Regions from separate parts of the Homo sapiens genome. Here all the other regions are linked to region 3. The links are contacts of gene promoters, found by promoter capture Hi-C in blood cells and fetal thymus (Javierre and others, 2016). All regions are on one chromosome and are shown on one strand. Each heading gives the region's core, a stretch centred on a gene start or on the middle of the fragment in contact. The rest is flanking DNA. Distances are from core to core; before and after follow the strand shown.

The links. Contacts are between HindIII fragments. The CHiCAGO score rates a contact against its expected background, and 5 or more counts as called.
Region 1: a contact is called between a fragment that was not itself captured here and the fragment with the promoter of CDR2 in region 3, in 4 of 17 cell types (neutrophils, non-activated CD4 T cells, naive CD8 T cells and 1 more). The highest score is 6.9, in neutrophils.
Region 2: a contact is called between a fragment that was not itself captured here and the fragment with the promoter of CDR2 in region 3, in 9 of 17 cell types (M0 macrophages, erythroblasts, M1 macrophages and 6 more). The highest score is 10.8, in M0 macrophages.

Annotation. Positions count from the first base shown.
Region 1 is chr16:21,604,386-21,608,262 of GRCh38, reverse strand. All of the region lies in intron 1 of METTL9 (methyltransferase 9, His-X-His N1(pi)-histidine), which reads right to left. Among named protein-coding and RNA genes, the nearest start is that of METTL9, 6.7 kb to the right of the region's middle. The HindIII fragment of the contact is 4,521 bases long and covers 1-3,869 here.
Region 2 is chr16:21,564,338-21,568,146 of GRCh38, reverse strand. No RefSeq gene overlaps it. Among named protein-coding and RNA genes, the nearest start is that of METTL9, 33 kb to the left of the region's middle. The HindIII fragment of the contact is 1,772 bases long and covers 1,295-3,066 here.
Region 3 is chr16:22,372,373-22,376,205 of GRCh38, reverse strand. CDR2 (cerebellar degeneration related protein 2) reads left to right here and starts at 1,587. Exons shown (of 5, transcript NM_001802.2): 1 at 1,587-1,975. The coding sequence starts at 1,897. CDR2-DT (CDR2 divergent transcript) reads right to left here and starts at 1,319. Exons shown (of 3, transcript NR_148970.1): 1 at 983-1,319; 2 at 646-879. RefSeq lists enhancers at 815-864, 1,205-1,284 and a silencer at 1,825-2,054. The HindIII fragment of the contact is 4,746 bases long and covers 736-3,833 here.

The DNA.
Region 1 (3,877 bases), core at 360-2,859, 770 kb after region 3:
CACCTCTCTCCAAACAACCAGCTTAGATAAAAAGCTACGCTAAGCTCGCAGCACTGGGTGGCTTGTCTGTATGCTCCTGTGTACTTTCAAGCAGGTGAGTTCTTTGTTTTTTTTGAGACGGAGTCTTGCTCTGTCGCCCAGGATGGAGTGCAGTGGTGTGATCTAGGCTCTCTGCAACCTCTGCCTGCCGGGTTCAAGTGATTCTCTCGCCTGAGCCTCCCAAGCAGCTGGGATTACAGGCACCTACCACCCCGCCTGGCTAATTTTTGTATTTTTAGTAGAGATGGGGTTTCACCATGTTGGCCAGGCTGGTCTTGATCTCCTGACCTCAGGTGATCTGCCTGCCTCGGCCTCGCAAAGTGCTAGGATTACAGGCGTGAGCCGCTGCGCCCAGCCGCAGGTGAGTTCTTTAAATGTGTGCTCCTTAAAGACTACAGAGACAAAGGTGCACAGGCAAGAACAAAGTACTATGCCCGTTAAATTCACACACTGACAGGACTACACGCCCACTCTACTGTGAGGCTGGACTCCTTGGCTGGAGCCTACCATGTCTGAAAAAGCATCTTATTAGCATCTGCCTTTAAAGCTCACTCAAATGTTGTTTCATCTAAATAAACAAGGGAATCTTTTAAATGACAAATTCTAATCAAATGAGAATGATTCCATTCAGTCATCTGCTGATGCCAAGTACAGAACAGGATGTGATATCTAAAAATTACAGTAAATAGCAATATTCTCCCTACTGGCAACACAACTGCAAAGATACTAATAATTGGCCAGGCAGTAAACAGCCAAATCAGGTGGCTGCCACGCGTTTTGAATGCATGTCTGACAGTATTCGCCAACCGAAGTTATTAAATATTAGGTCATACTGTCTTAAAAATTTCCTGGCTGGCTACGATGGCTCACACCTGTAATCCCAGCAATTTGGAGGCCCAGGTGGGCAGATCACTTGAAGTCAAGAGTTCAAGACCAGCCTGGCCAACATGGTGAAACCCCGTCTCTACTAAAAATACAAAAATTAGCCAGGCGTGGTGGCAGGAACCTATAATTCCAGCTACTTGGGAGGCTAAGGCAAAAGAATCACTTGAACCAGAGAGGCAGAGGTTGTAGTGAGCCCAGAGTGTGCCACTGCACTCCAGCCTGGGCGACAAAGCAAGACTGTCAAAAAAAAAAAAAAAATTTCTCATTAAGCCCATGAACTCCTCCTAATATTTATATATAACCTTGGTTGATGAATCACTCGTTCAAAGTAGGAATGCAATTTTCCTATAAAATTAGATTTGCTAATCAGACCAAATATGGTTAAAAGTTTTTCTGAAATTATTTTTGGAGTTTATCAACTAATCAAACATGTGATATACAACATATCCAAAATACAACATTCCCAAAATACAAAGGATTTAAGCACACTAGCAGAGTCAGAAAGTAATTTTAAAAACTGACTGATTTTAGATGATGTGGTATAATAAAAAATACATATTTGATCTTTGTCCCAGGTTCCTGATAGAGAGTTCCTAAAACCCTTCGGGAATCTCAGGGTAATAAGAGTATCTTTTGTATGCTAACAGGATGACTCCTGATAGGGGTGGGAGACCCAGACAGCTTCAGGATGGGGACCAGGATGTGGGTATAAGGTTCAAACTTTCAGCCCCACCTTCCAATCTCCAAGGATGAGAAAGGAGTTGAAGACTGAGTCTAATCATGCCTATGTAATGACACCCCTAAACTATGGGGTCCTGGGAGCTTTTAGTTTGCTGAATACATTGATATGATGGTTGGGTGGCTCATCAGAGGAAAGAGAAACTCTACACCACCTCCCACACCTCACCCTATGCACCTCTTCCACTTGGCCGTTCCCCAATTGTATCCTTTGTAATAAACCAGTAAACCTAAGTGGTTTATTATTATTATTATTATTATTTTGAGACGGAGTCTCGCTCTGTCGCTCAGGCTGGAGTGCAGTGGCGCAATCTCAGCTCACTGCAACCTCCGCCTCCACGGTTCAAGCGATTCTCCTGCCTCAGCCTCCCCAGTAGCTGGGATTACAGGCACGTGCCACCACGCCCAGCTAATTTTTTTGTATTTTTAGTAGAGACCAGGTTTCACCCTGTTAGCCGGGATGGTCTTGATCTCCTGACCTCGTGATCCACCCACCTCAGCCTCCCATAGTGCCGGGATTACAGGCGTGAGCCACCGCACCTGTGTTTTCCTAAGTTCTATGAGTCATTCTATTATAGGAAATTAGGGGGTGGGGTGGGGTAGGGTGAAGGTAGAGTTGTGGGAACTCCCAAATTTGTTCAAGGTGGACAAAAGCACTGGCAGCCTGGGAACCCAGGACTTCCAGCTGGCCTCTGAAGTGAGGGCAGTCTTGTGGGACTGAGCTCTTAACTCTGTAAAGCGTGACCCTAACTCCAGGTAGTTAATGTCAGAACAGGATTGAACAATTAAACACCCACTTGGTGATGGAAAATTAGAGAATGGCTGATGTCAGGAAAAAATGACAATACATGTAAGAATCTTTTTTCAACTTTAAGCCTTAAAAAAAGCATGCACAAACCAGATAAAGGCCAGAACTTCAAGCAGCTGTCTTATTCTCATCTAATTCACAAACTACAAAATCTTCAACAAGTATTGTGCACACAGCTACCTAACTTCAGTGTCTACACAGAGGCCTCACTAGAATGAGGGCAGTTTCCTATTCAGAAGGCAAGCCTAGGCCAGGAGCAGTGGCTCACGCCTGTAATCCCAGCACTTTGGGAGACTGAGGCAGGAGGACTGCTTGAGGCCAGGAGTTTGAGACCAGCCTGAACAACATGGCAAGACCCTGCCTCTACAAAAGATTTAGAAGCTACTCAGGAGGCCGAGGCAGGAGGATGTACTGAGGCCAGGAGTTTGAGGCTGCAGTGAGATATGATCAGGCCACTGCATTCCAACTTGGGTGACAGAGTAAGAACTTGTTTCTCAAAAAAAAAAAAAAAAAAAAAAAAAAAAAAAAAAAAAAAGAAGGCAAGCCTATTTTTACCACCCCTCAGACAACACAAGGTTTACCAGGAGGGGCATCATAAAGCAGCAGAAAATGTGTTGCCTTGAAACCAAAGCTGGGTGCAAAGCCCAACTCTATCATCCATTAACTCTGTGCTGGTGAGCAAGTCTCTTCTCTCTCTCACCCTCACTTTTCTGTATGTAAAGTGCGGATGATACCACCAACCTCCAAGAGTTCTATGTGGACTACTGGGGATAATATATTTGAAGTGCCTGGCACACAATAGAAGGCCAGTAGCTCTTCATATTTCCTTCCCCTTTCTCTCCAAGGCAAGGGCTGGTCAGAGGAGAAGTACAGTTCAAGGGAATGCCTAAAAACCAAACTGTAGGTCTAGGCATCCAGCCATTCTCAAAAGAAATGGGTAATCAAAGACCCAAGGCATTCAGGGCTACCAAAAACAATCAGAAAAGCTCCACTGCTCAGGATCTATGAACACAGAATCTTTTCTAAGTTGGCCAGACCAACTCCATCAACAGAGCTTGACAGCTAAGGATTCAAAATTCACATTCTAAGATTTTACAATGCAGTCAACTCAGTCCAGACATTTCACCATGCACACCTTGCATTTAAGCACAGCATAGGCGTAAATATTCAGACCATTCACCATTTTCCCACAAACAATATAAACTCAACCCAATAACCTCTTTATGTGAGATTTCAATGTGTACAGTGACAGGCACCCTCATATCCATGAGGGGAATCAATTAAAACAGATTAAATGGCTTCAGCTTTGATTTAATAACCAATTACTGGCAATCCTCATTGCAAATACTAAATACTCACTCCCCATAGGACAGGATAATCCTAAAATTTTAACAAAGCTTCAGAGGG
Region 2 (3,809 bases), core at 931-3,430, 810 kb after region 3:
TTAATGTGCTAGGCACTGGACTAAATACTGGGTATTCAATGGTAGGTGAAACTGCTAAAGTCTCTATCTTCATGGAGCCTACCTACCTCCTAGTGTGCGAGATAGGTCTTATTTAAATAGTCATAAGTTTGATTTACACATGATTATATAAGATGACTGTAGAAAGTGCTATGATAGAAAAACAAGGTATTAAATGAGAGCTCATTGTTAGAGGGTCTGGCTCATGCTGGGCAAGTGGAGGCCAGAGAATGCTCCCCAGAGGAAATATTTGAGCTGAGTTCTAAAGGACAAGTAGGCATTAACTAGGAGGGTTCTGCCTAGAATCATGTGCAAAACCTCCGGCCACCACTACCTCCTCCTCTAAAAGCCACAGCTGGAGCCAGGCATGGTGGCTTATGCCTGTAATCCCAACATTGTGGGAGCCCAAGGCAGGCAGATTGCTTGAGCCTAGGACTTCAAGACCAGCATGATCAACATGGTGAAACCCCATCTCTACAAAACATACAAAAATTAGCTGGGTGTAGTGGCGCTCAGCTGCAGTCCCAGCTACGCAGGGGGCTGAGGTGGGAGGATTGCTTGAACCTGGGAGGCAGAGGTTGCAGTGAGCCGAGATCATGCCACTACACTCCAGCCTGGGTGACAGAGCAAAACCAGAAGAAGAAGAAGATAAAAGATAAAAGCCATAGCTGGGAATGTCCTTGGTGCTCTGAACTGGATGACATTTGTTAGGCATGGCCATCCCACAGACTCACTGCTCCTCAAGATCACCCTTCAGTTATCCAAGAACTGATGGTTACCTACCCATGCTCTGCTCTTCTGCTGCTACTTTCTGGGCTCTGAGATGACCACAGAGGCCAGGGTCAAATGCTGGGCCACTCACCACATACTGATGATGCTGTCAAAATGTGGTTACCCTTCTGCTCCACCTCAATTATCTGTGGAAAACCTAATTTAAGGGGTATATGGTGTTTTGTCTGCCCGCATTTCTTCCTGTAAGAAACACGCTTTCCCCTCTTCCCTAGTAAACTGTCTCAGTCCTTACGAGTTGGTGGAGCTGGACTGCCTCACTTCCATCCCCAAGGTCAGGTACATGCCCAGATCTGGTCAGAGGACTTCATGTGTCAAGGTACAACTACTGCCTCAGCCATGAGCACTTGACTCATACAGTGCCCATTAGCGTCCACCTGGGGACTTTTTCTGTGCTACTGGAACAAAAGTGCATGTTTCCTCACCATCTTGGGCTGTTAGCCCTATGTGAACATGGAGGTATCTTGCTGCCATGCGATGAAAAGCTTATACACAACGCAGAGGGTAAGTCAGAGAAACTAGTTAATGACATAATTTGAGATCCAAATCTGCCTGACTTTTCAGCTACAGAAGCCAATAAATTCCCTTTTTTTTCTTTTTTTCTTTTTTTTTGAGACAGAGTCTCACTGTCGCCCAGGCTGGAGTACAGTGGCGTGATCTTGGCTCACTGCAACTTCCACCTCCCGGGTTCAAGTGATTCTTCTGCCTCAGCCTCCAGAGTAGCTGGGACTACAGGCGTGCACTACCATGCCTGGCTAATTTTTTGTATTTATAGTACAGGCAGGGTTTCACCGTGTTGCCCGGGCTGGTTTAGAACTTCTGACCTTAGGTGATCCACCCGCCTCGGCCTCCCAAAATGCTGGGATTATAGGCATGAGCCACTGTTCCCAGCCCGAATTCCTTTTTTATTTAAGCTAACCTGCATTGAATTTCTGTCACTTGTAGCCAAAGTGGTTTGAATAATGCACCTTTCCAATTGGCACTTGTGCCCAAATTACCATAAACTGGCTGTCTCTGACCACTCTAGGGAAAGGATTCAGTGATTTCTAATTGACCACTACCAGTGAAGACATGGGAGGTTTGAAATAGCTGAGCCCAGATTCTGAGAACGACAGGACAAGGTCATGATTGTACTTTTGAACTTGATGTTGGAGGTGTTCACAAGCATGACGCCTCTCCTGGACTTTGTTTACTGATAGGAACCACAAGATAGACGAGACAGCAGAATTAGGCCAACAATGGGTGCAAGGTGCCAAAAAGGTAATAGAAACCCAAGTTCCACTTTGAAGCAGCATAAATCAGACATTTCTCAAACATTAAAAACGGAAGTGGCCTGATCAAGACCTTTAAACGGAGTAAAAAGCCACGAAGCCAAGGCCTTGAGCAGCTAGTCAGAGAATTATTGCAATATGTGCTCAGAGACACAGGGTTTCATGAAAAGCCCAGTCTCTGCCTGGCTGCAGCACCTCTGTGCTTTTTGTCCCAGCATTTGCTTAGCAGCAGAACCTCATTATCCTTCAGTGTTCTGTAGTTATAACAGATTCCAGCTTCAGGGGGAAAAAAATGGATTCCAGCTGCCAGGGGTTCTCTCTGGGAGATTTTCTATCTCTGAGACGAAATTGTCTTTTTCTCCCTTTTTTCATGGTGAGAGGGGCATGGAGTACACCTCTGATAATCTGCAGAGGCAAAGCCTTGCATGAGCATGCTGACAACCCTGCAGAGAGAAAGCCTTAGGCTGGAAGTTCAAGGGCAGCCAGGAGAATGAACATTTCGATGAATAAAGCAATTTGATAACTACCATGTTGTGGTCTAAGACCCACCACTTACAGGCTTACATGGTGATTACTGAAGCTGCAACTATTTTAATGGCTTCATCTACTTTAAAGTACTGGTGATTTTTCTACTACTTCATTTAATTGCTTGATGTTTCTTGGAAGAGTTCTTCGGTCTTTCTGCTAAAATGTTATCCCAAGCTAGGAGAGATGCCATGATTTCAGAGAATTTCTTTTCCTCTATAATATTATATATTTTCCTCTGGGTTATCAATGAACCTACTGACTACTTTGAGTATTATGCCTTTAGGATGTCTTCACCTCTCATTTCCTTAACATTTTTAAATGAATCTCTGATAGAAAAATGAATCTGAAGCCTTGCTTATGCTTTGATTCATTCAACAAATATTTATTGCACACTTACTGTTTTAGATGCCTGGGATACAGAGTAAATAAATCAACAATGATCCTTGCCTTCAACAAAGCTTACATTCTGGTGGAGGCAAAGAGATAATACATAAATAAATTTAATATCATCTTTTGTAATAATAACCATTACACCTCTGCTTATGAAAAAAATTGCATTCAATTTTTGCTCACAATCTTCTTTTTTTTTTTTTTTTTTTTGAGACAGAGTCTCACTCTGCCACCTAGGCTGGAGTGCAGTGGCATAATCATACTTCACTGCAACCTCTGCCTCCTGGGCTCAAGTGACCCTCCTGCATCAGCCCCACAAGTAGCTGGGACTACAGATGCATGCCACAATGCCCAGCTAATTTTTCTATTTTTTGTAGAGATGGGATTTTGCCATGTTTCCCAGGCTGGTCTTGAACTCCTAGGCTCAAATGATCTGCCTACCTCGGCCTCCCAAAGTGCTGGGATTACAGGCACTGAGCCACTATGCTCAACTAATCTTCTGTTCCCTTCCTTCCTTCCTTTTCCTTCCTTCCTTCCTCTCTCTCTCTTCCTTCCTTCCTCTCTCTCTTCCTTCCTTCCCTTCCTTCCCTTCCCCTCTTCCTTTCTCTCTCTCTCTTTTCTTTCTTTTTTCTGACAGAGTCTTGCTCTGTCACTCAGGCTGGAGTGCAGTGGCACAATCTTGGCTCACTGCAACCTCCACCTCCTGGGTTCAAGTGATTCTCTTACCTCAGCCTCCTGAGTAGTTGGTATTACAGGCACACACCACCACAGCCAGCTACTTTTTTTTTTTTGTATTTTTAGTAGAGACGGGGT
Region 3 (3,833 bases), core at 338-2,837:
TATAACAAAAAGCCAAAGTCCCCAGCCTCAAATCACTCCTCCTCTTAGGAAAACTTTTTTTTTTTGTTTGGTTTTTGAGACGCAGTTTTTGCCCAGGCTGGAGTGCAATGGCGCAATCTCGGCTCACTGCAACTTCCACCTCCCGGGTTTCAAGCAATTCTCCTGCCTCAGCCTTCCAAGTAGTTGGGATTACAGGCATGCGCCACCACGCCCAGCTAATTTTGTATTTTTAGTAGAGATGGGGTTTCTCCATGTTGGTCAGGCTGGCCTCGAACTCTCGACCTCAGGTGATCCGCCCGCCTCGGCCTCCCAAAATGCTGGGATTACAGGCGTGAGCCACCGTGTCCAGCCTCGGAAAACTCTTAATTGCTTCCCATTTTTAGTTCTGGCAGCTCTCTCCATATTTGTGGAAACTATTCATTGGATTATCAATGTAAGGTATTATCTGTCGACTCACTTCTAAAATAGATCAGGATTTAACACTCCTCTCCACCTCTTCCCTCTCTCTGAATTTCTAACAGTTTATTACCTCATGTTCTAGAGATAATCTTTCAATTGTATACTTAAACCTCGATTTTTTTTTGTTTCGTTGCTCAAAGTTAGTTAGATATTGGCCCTGTTGTCTTCCATCAGCTGCACCTTTACCTTTACGTCAAGGTTGAGAACATTGACCTTCAGGTCTGTCATCCTGCTTAAGAGTTTCCGTGCTTTGTCTGCAAGATGGTGCTTAAAGCTTTACCTAGGAGCAGTATTTGCTGGGTTATGTCGGTGGAGGACAGCGTGCTCTGCCTCGCTGGCTACTAAGTGCTGGAGCTGCAGCCTGTCCCCTCCAGGTGCAATGTCACGTCCCCAGATGCTTAACTTGTGGTCTAGGGGTACCTTTTAAAAATCGTTGCAACACTGCTTACAATTTTCGCCCTCCAAGTGGACAGCTTCGGGCATCCCTCACCGCCCCAGATTCTCAAGGGGGTCTGGTGCCCACCGTTTTATGTAGCGTGAGTTTAATTCCCAGGGCTCAGATGTCAAGGAGACAAGAGCTACCGCTCAGTGGGCGTTTTCTCAACCCAAACTCCCGATCGACCTCGAGTCTCCCCGCCGGACCCGGAGCAAATCTCAGAGTCAAGATGCGAGAAGGGGTGGCCGGGCGGCGGACCTCAGGCTTCCGGCACCCTTGCGCTTCCCGCCGGCACGAAGGACTCCCCTGGACAACCGCCCGCCTCTCAGAGGCCGGAGTCCTAGGCCCTCCGGCCTGCGTTGCCTGTCCACAGACGCGCCGGCCTCGGGACACCCACCACAGGGGTAAGACGCGCCTCTGCCAGCTCCCCAGCCCGAAACCCAGAACGCCCTCCTAGGAGCCTCACAGCGCAGATCAGGGGACGGGCTTTCGGCCGCACCCCTTCACTCTTTCCCCGCCTTCTTTGTTTATTCCGGACCCACCATTGGCTGCTTGCCCTCGATACCGGGCGAGCCGCCGGTCTTTGGAGAGAGGCGATTGGACGAAGTCCCTGCCGCTCGGCCAGCAGCCCGCTCGCGATTGGTTGAGGCGCCGCCGGGGGTTTGAATCGCATCCCCGGCCGGGGAGGGTTCTGCCAAAGTGCCACGTTGGGCCCGGCGGCGGCGTGAAGACTGGCGGCTGCGTGAGACTCCGGCTCCAGGCGTTCGCACCGTAATGCCCGGCCGTTGGGGCCGTCGGTAGGCGCGAGGCGAGTCGAGGCAGCCGGCCGGTCGGCGGCCGCCGGCGGGAACGGGGCTGAGGCGGCGCAGCGGAGTCTGGGCGGCGGCGCGTCCCGCCCGAGGGCGGCTCTGGCTGAGGGCGGAGGGGCCGGGGAAGAGCCCGGGGCAGCGGCTGAGGCGGGACGGCGGCGGGGGCCGCTGCCCCTAGAAGACCCAGCCGAGATGCTGGCGGAAAACCTGGTAGAGGAGTTTGAGATGAAGGAGGACGAGCCGTGGTACGACCACCAGGACCTCCAGCAAGGTGAGGGCGGGGGCGCCCCGCGGGCGGGCGGCGGCCTGGCCCGGGAGGCCCCCGCTGCGAAACTGTTAAAAAGTTGCTTTTTGTGGCGGCGGAGGATGCAGGTGCCGGGAAGGGCTCAGGCTCACCTGGCGGCTGGGCCGGCCGTGCCCGCGGATCCCGCCCGCAGGAAGCCTCGGCACGGGGCCCACGGCCTTGCTAATGCGCAGTTGAATATCAGCCCCGAGGCGCGTGGGGGCCAGGGACGAGCCAGGCACCGTTTTAAGCGCTTTCCGTGGATTAGCTAGTTTAATCCTCACTGCATTCCTCCGAGGCAGACCCGGGTGAGCCAGTGTGTCCCGCAGTAAGTGGCATAGCCCGAGAAGCCGCCCCGTCGCAGGCTGTCTAGCCCAGCGCCTTTCATGGCCAGCGTGGAGGGCCGGCTGCTGCAGGTGGTAGTTGTTTTGCGGCGTAGCGGGAGCTGTGCGCTCCGCACCGTAACTCCAGGAGACAGTAACTTTTTAAAAATTAATGTTTGAGGGTACATGGTAGGTGTATATATTTGTGGGGTACATGAGATGTTTGGATACAGGCACGCAGTGTGAAATAAGCACGTGATGGAGAACGGGGCGTCCATCCCAGCATTTATCCATTGAGGTACAAACAATCCAATTACACACTTTTGTTATCCCATTTTCCATATGAGGAAAGCGGAGATTAAAACGGTAAAGTGGCTTGCCTAAAGCTAAGTGTGGGAGGGAGTGTTTTTTGAACCCACACACTCAGAAGAAGAGTTGTAGTCACTGCTCAAACCCCATCTCTTCCTTACCATCCTAGTTTACAGTTTTTTTCAGTTGGGCGTTAAGCTGTTAGGCATAGTTCACCAGATGCCAATTGAAACGACAGAAGAAAGAGCGCATCTATCTCTGCCACTTTTCTTCAGTTTGCACGCCAGCTTTCACTTAGAAACAGGCCTGCCGATGGTGTCTCCAGAGAACAATCGTAGAGTAGCCCACTCTTTGGGGCCAGTGGGGCCCCTGTTTTTCTTATACTAATAGCAGGAGCTAGCAGTTGGGGAACACTTTTTATGTGCCTAACACTGATAGGCCCATAACACAGTTGCTCATTTAATTCTCCCAGTAACACAATAGAGGTAGTAATGTTGGGGAGTGCTAGGGTTCTCCTTAAGACTCCAGAGCAAACGTTCTTAACCGCTATACTGAGTACTGAACAATCCTCAGGAATTTTTCCAGGCATCTTCAGTTTCTGCAATTCTGTGTAAATGCTCTCAGCTCTAATCTTGCAATGAAAATTAACATCTCATTTAGTTGAATATTAAATGATCATGTTGCTTGTTCATGCTAACCACTGAACATGGCAGAAGAAAAGAATGTAGACCTGAATAACTCAGAAAAGGAAAATAAAATGAGCACCTCTTTTGGAGGAAGATAATTTCTTAAATTAACATGCAATCACTTTAACCAAAGTAATTCACCTTTATTACACTTACAGAGTCCAAGCTACTTAGTGGTTGCAGTGCAGTGTTTGGCACCATCTTCTTTATGTCCAAGAGACAAATTTATTATACATATTAACAAACCTGTTTTCAGATTTCCCCGTAAGGATTGATGGCCTAGTTTGATAGTTTCTCCAGGATTTGTGAGGCAACCACTGTACCACTGCAGTACTTCCCTATAATTTAATTTGTATCATCACAACTAAATATTTCTCTTTCCTGTATTTAAGAAGCATTAATCTTTAAGGGCATAGAGGGGGCAGGTTCTTTTTTCTTGTGTTTCCAGCATCTAGCATAATACTTGGCACATACTGGAAGCTCGATTTTAATATTTGTTGAACTGCACTGAAGCACTCGCACAGAATT